2 separate regions of the Homo sapiens genome follow, and region 1 is linked to region 2. Evidence: promoter capture Hi-C in human tissues and cell types (Jung and others, 2019). All regions are on one chromosome and are shown on one strand. The core of a region is centred on a gene start or on the middle of the fragment in contact, and the rest is flanking DNA. Distances in the headings are between cores, read along the strand shown. Region 1 overlaps HTR1E (5-hydroxytryptamine receptor 1E). Region 2 holds the start of HTR1E (5-hydroxytryptamine receptor 1E).

Region 1 (2,806 bases), core at 147-2,646, 53 kb after region 2:
CCTCCCAGATGTCCTTCTCCCTGAAGCCAGCCCCAGATCTTCTCTCCCCAAGCAGCTCTCCTTTTTGCCTGTCTTCCTGAGTACCGGTCCCCAAATCACCAAATTCTACCTTGAACATATTGAATGAAAGTGTGCAGTGCCTTATGCCCTGATGAGAAGTGGTCTTGGAAGATGTTTTCTGCACCAACTTAAGAAGCTATCACAAAATCATGATAAAAAAAATGATGAGCTATTTATACTTTGCAGACATAGGTGGTTGTTGGAAGAAAAGAGTGCCTTAGGAATCAAATAACTGGTATTGGAGGATTCCTGTGACTTTGTAAAATTCAATTAAATATCCAGGGGAAAATAATAGACAACATTGTCACCTGAGGATACATTATTGGTCCTTGTTGAAAAAGCAGTAGTTTCTAACCAGTTCCTTCCTAACCTATTTGCCATTAATTTCTGGAAGTTACAAACTGTAATAACAATTACCATAACACTGACTGTAGCATAAAAACCATAGGATGTTAGCCCCAAAAGATGGTCAGAAATAATGAGGTGCTAATTTTACAGATAGGGAAACAGAGACCTGAAGCAAGGAGTGTCTTTTTCAGAGTCACACAACCAATCATTAATGTATCTAAGACACATTTGCAGGAGGATTCTGTTCTTCACTCCTCCATTTTTATACAACATACTATCTCTTGCTTTTCAACCTACAGTAAGTTGAGCCAAAAAAAAAAGATACCTACAAATCTCCTTCTTGAACATGCCCTTTGAGGTGGCTGGAACAGTATCAAGTGGTCTGAGATAGCAATGCACTAGGTGGAAGCTTAGATAGATGGCACTAAGTGGAAGCCTAGTAGGAAACCTCAGCCCTGCAGGCAGCTTCCATGTGTATTCCCTTGGGTCTGCCACAAAAGCATGTTGCACTACAAAAGATTCAAAAGGCAAATGTGTGCACAGCACAGGAGGGAGCCCAGTTCTTCTCTGAGGAGTTTCCTACTTCAGTGGTGTTATTAAGCTGGGTCAAAAGAAAGTCATTTCATTTTTTTAAAATATGCTAATACAACCTCAAGCACCAGCTAGCTTAAATGATAGGCATTTCATAAAGTTCATTTTTATTATTCTCAGCTGAAAAGTAAATAACACCCTACAGGTGTCCTTCATATAAAAATGATGTATTTGCCTTCAATGGAGACTCTGTATTGACTAAAACCTTATCTGTATTTCACAAGACAGATCATTTTTCCCCATCACCTTTCAAAGAGGTGTTGTTGCCAGTCTATACAGGACAAACGAAAACAGTCTAATAAAAGAAATGGTTCAGCAGGAACTAACTGAAAGAGTTCCCAGTGACCAAAACTGGAACAACTTGAGCAATAAAATAAATAACCTAGTATTGGATTATAACCCAAAGAATAAAATAAATAGCCATGAGTTCATACTTATATAAATAAACATAAATAGGCATCAATAGTGTATTTATAAAATAATTTCCCCAGAACTAAAGGCTACTGCCCCCTTGGGACTGAATCATAAATATATGCACAGTAAATATCAATATAAATAAATGACTGAACAAATAAAGTAGGGGAGAAGAGATAAATCTTCCTTTCAGAATTCCATATAATGTATGTTCATATTCTCCCTCTCCAAAAGGCAGAGCTTAATTCCTCAGTTTTGGAGGTAGACTAGACTTAGTGATTCACTTCTTAAAAAATAGAGCAGGGAAAGGGAAAAATAGTAACTTTATAGTGGAGAATCATGGCAAATGCTACCTTAACCAAATGATGACAGTTAACACCACCAGTAATGTCAAGTGAATATCATGTTCTCTAATATGATCTAATGAGAAGGGCTTGACTTCTGAGATACTCTTCACCAAAACTTATAACCCCAGTCTAAACATGAGGGAAAACATCAGATAAACTGAGATCAGGGGGACATTTTTTTCTACAGAATACCTGGCCAGTATTCCTTAAGACAGTCAGTCATGAGAAACAAGCAAAGATTAGAAAGTCACAGACCAGAAGAGACTGGGGAGATAAGAAAAATTAAATACAATGTGGTGTCCTGAATTGGAACAGAAAGAAGACATTAATGCAAAAACTATTAAATCCAAATAAAATCTGAAGTTTAGTTAATAGTAACGAGCCAATGTCTTTTTCTTAATTTTGAAAAATGTACCATGGTAATACAAGAAGTTAACAATGGGTAAAACTGAATGAGGGGTATATATGAACTCTCTGTACTTTCTTTACAGCTCTTCTATAAATATAAATTTCTACCAAAATAAAAAGTTTATTTCTTAAAATAGATGGTGCAAATGTATCTTATTGCATGCTCTTCCCTGGAGCATGGTAGAGTTTTATAGTGAATGCATTGCCAAATCCAAGGAAGACAGAAGACTTGAGAAAACTAAATACTTTCAGCAGCCAGGGGTGGAGTGGTGACAACAAGCTGTAGAATAAAAGGAAAAGTGATGTTTGTTCAGTGAAGAACAAACTAAGTCTTATTTGTGTAGTGGTCTCAGAAGCAGAATATGTTCTAAACAAAGAGTTAAGGAAGGTAAAAGCTCAAACCAACAAGTAAACCAGATTTCACAGAAACACAAATGTGTAGCGGCTGTCCAATAATGATTATGTTTAATAGTAGAATAGACTCCAGTTGCAAACATATGTTTTATACAAACTCTTCAAATTGGAGACATTTCTCTAAATTTTCCTTGTAAATTGTGCAGGATATTACATCTGACTTTCATATTATCATCTCAAAAGTGGTGAAACCATTTTGCCAATCACTTGCATCACCTTTCTGC
Region 2 (3,001 bases), core at 358-2,857:
TCAGTCCTATAAGATTCTTTTTTAAAATGAGGAATGATTCTTGTTCTGCTTATTTTTACATAACACCTTTATCATCAAACAAACTTCAAGATGTGTCATCTTTAGTAGGAAAACATATTTCCACCTCATCCTCCTGTTAGACTTCAGTCTACTTAAGCCTATTCTCAGTTTAATGGGATTAACAGAAGCAAATCACAATTTAAGACTATAGTTTACCAACCTTCCTTTCTCTTGTTCAGTGAAATTCCCCTGATAATCCATCAGTCAACCCCTGCTGGCCTTGAGAGGCGCTCTAGAAGGCAGGAGAAGGGCACACAGGCTCGCTTTTTGAACTGAAGAAGGGTTTCATTTGGTTTAGAATTGTCAAACTTCAAAAAATAAATAAATAACTTAAAGTGTTTTTCAAATCAGCCATAAGGCTACAAACCAGAAAGAAAAGTGTGAGGCAGGTGTTTGGGGCAGCTACCCAAGTTGCCTACATGGTTTCCAAGGTCCTTTCAACTCTAAGGTTTGTGTATCAGGCTGTCTACAGATCATACTGTCTCCATAAGATTGTCTAGTTCATTTTATGGCTAGTTTGAACAATCTGATTTTCTTTTTTACAATGGCAGGGGCTCAATCCATGTTAGGCTTCAATGTTGAGTCACCCAAGTTCTCCACAGAGAATAACCAACCAGCCGTAAGGAAGCTTCTTTTAGCAATGCCAGGATTCTGCAAAGTCCCTCCCAGCTTAACTTTTCTGACCTTGCGGCAGCAGAACAACAAAAAGAACAGCCCCTGGCACCCTCAGAAGAGCACAAAGCCCTCTGACAACCTGAGATGGCGCCCAGGTAGACTTCCCTCAAAAAAAAAAAAAATGGCAAGGCTGCTTCAGCAGGTCTTTCAGCCCCAACCACTCCACTCTCCGTCTCCTTTTCTTCACTGCTTTCCCCACCTCTCTTCCCCCCTTCCACTTTGACCCACCCCAATTTTCGTCCACTTCTCCCTCACCCCTTCCTTGTAATCTCTCTCCTTGAGGCATCCTGTGGATGTTGACTGTAATCTCCCCTGGAGGAGGGCTAAGAAATGCACCTCCAGAGGGTCTGTTTGCCATTGGAACCGCGTAGAGAAAGCGTGCAAACCCGTCAACTGCTCCCGCCGTTCCTCTCCCTCCTCAACCCAGGCTCGCTACAGAAGAAGGGAGTAGGGTCTGCCCCCTTGTTGTATCTATTTTCCCCTTCTCCGCCAGGGCTGTGGCCGGCAAGGGGCTCAGGAGGTGAGTCCCTTGCCCACACCTCCAACCCCGCTGGCCCGGTTTATAACATGGACAGCCCTGCCCTCTAGTGTCTGCAACCGGGAGCCCTAAGGCGCCATCAGCTCCAGAATTTCTCTTTTATAACCTAAGCAAGACCTGGAGTACCTCGGAGCTGCGACCTCCAGTTCACAATACCACCTGCCTCACACCCGGGCTCATCTTTTCATCCCACACCCACCACCCCCCTCTCCGTTCACGGTGTCCCGGGAGGCTGCGACCTGCGTAGATGATTTAGCAGACTGCCCCTGCCCATGCTCCTGCTCCTGCTCCTCCTCCTCCTCTTCCCCGCTCTCTCCCTCTCGCCTCCTCTTCCAGTCCAGGCGCCCAGACTCGGCGAAGCGCAGCGCCTGCCACCAGCGGTGCCTCGGGCTGCCCGGCGCGCCGCGCTCCCAGGTTCTGTCTCGCCGCACCCCGGCGGGCACTGGCGCGGGCAAGGACGCTGGCGGGGAGAACGCCCTGGGCTCAACGTACTCCAGAATCGAATGTTGAGAGAAGCAGTGCTCTGATCCAGCTCAGGAGAAAAAGGAGCGGGTTCCGAGTGAGACTTCTGGAGCCAGCTGGACGTGCCGGTTTGCCCAGTGCGGCGCGGCTGCACGCACCGTCCACAAGGTGAGGGGCGCACACCTTCCGGGACGACCTTGGCTTCCCTTCTTACCCCCACCCACTCCAGGTACTCCAGCTCTGGCTTGGGGATGTTTGCCAGCTTTGAGGCGCAAAGGCGGCGGGAGTTGGGATGCGGGGTGTCGGAGGGAGACTGAGGGTCGCCCGGGCACCGTGCCTGCACCCTGGATTATAGTACAGAGAGCATTTCTTGTTCAAACAATTCCTCAAATGTGTGAACCTGAGAATCAACATTGTGTATAACTGTGGTTTGAGCATTTCATCCTGCTTCCTTGCAAAAGGATTAGAGGCAGCTTAAAGATTAAATAGGTATGGAACGGGTGCTGGGGGGGGCCAGGGAAAACTTGAGTAGAAATCACAGGGAGGTGGTGTGCTCCAGGGACCCCGGAAGAACTGTGTGATTTCAAAGCCAGCTGATTAAAAAACCTTTGATTAGAAAGGACTGCACTGTTGCTCCAGCCCTCAGAAAATAATACTGTGCTCAGTCCTGATAAACAAAATGCCCAGGTGTGGAGGTAATGAGGCAGGCTCATTTTTTTTAAAATACAAAATAAATCTTGGAAGTAAGAGTTAAGATGAGAAGTTTGGTCTTAAGCCATCTCCACCCAATACTGCAAGGTGAGAGGCTGACCCCCTACCTAACGAAAAGGAAAGGAAATTGAGTCTAAAGGGAAGTGATTCCAGCTCCTATCACAGGATCATAGTGGTTTTGCATCTATATGTATATTTCTGCCTGTGCCCAGTTTTGGAAGAAAGGACCTTGTATTCAACCCAACGCTGCTTGTCCTTGAGTTAGAAGGATAAGGCAGATGGTGTCAGCATCCCAAGGTGTTTCTTCCTAACCTTTCTTATTGTCCTTCCTTGCCTCCTGCACCAAATCTCTTGGGGAGGGAGCAGCCCAGGAGGAAATAATAGATCGTCAAATGGGTTGGGGGAGCAGTGTTTTTTCCAAAATAATTTAGGCTCATTTTATCATTCTTATGTTTTCCCTCAAAGCTCTAAGCAGTACATCGTCCTAAGCTGAATTTAACATTGCTCCAGAATATATATTTATCATAGTTGTACATTCAGACACAATATGCATAA

What was found. Contacts are between HindIII fragments. The study calls those that stand out against the background at their distance.
Region 1: a fragment that was not itself captured here is called in contact with the fragment with the promoter of HTR1E in region 2 in 1 of the 25 tissues and cell types used here (H1 embryonic stem cells).

Annotation. Positions count from the first base shown.
Region 1 is chr6:86,989,185-86,991,990 of GRCh38, forward strand. The region is part of intron 1 of HTR1E (5-hydroxytryptamine receptor 1E); the gene reads left to right. Among named protein-coding and RNA genes, the nearest start is that of HTR1E, 53 kb to the left of the region's middle. The HindIII fragment of the contact is 3,885 bases long and covers 1-2,806 here.
Region 2 is chr6:86,935,921-86,938,921 of GRCh38, forward strand. HTR1E (5-hydroxytryptamine receptor 1E) reads left to right here and starts at 1,608. Exons shown (of 2, transcript NM_000865.3): 1 at 1,608-1,903. RefSeq lists enhancers at 1,392-1,947, 1,948-2,502. The HindIII fragment of the contact is 9,684 bases long and covers 1-3,001 here.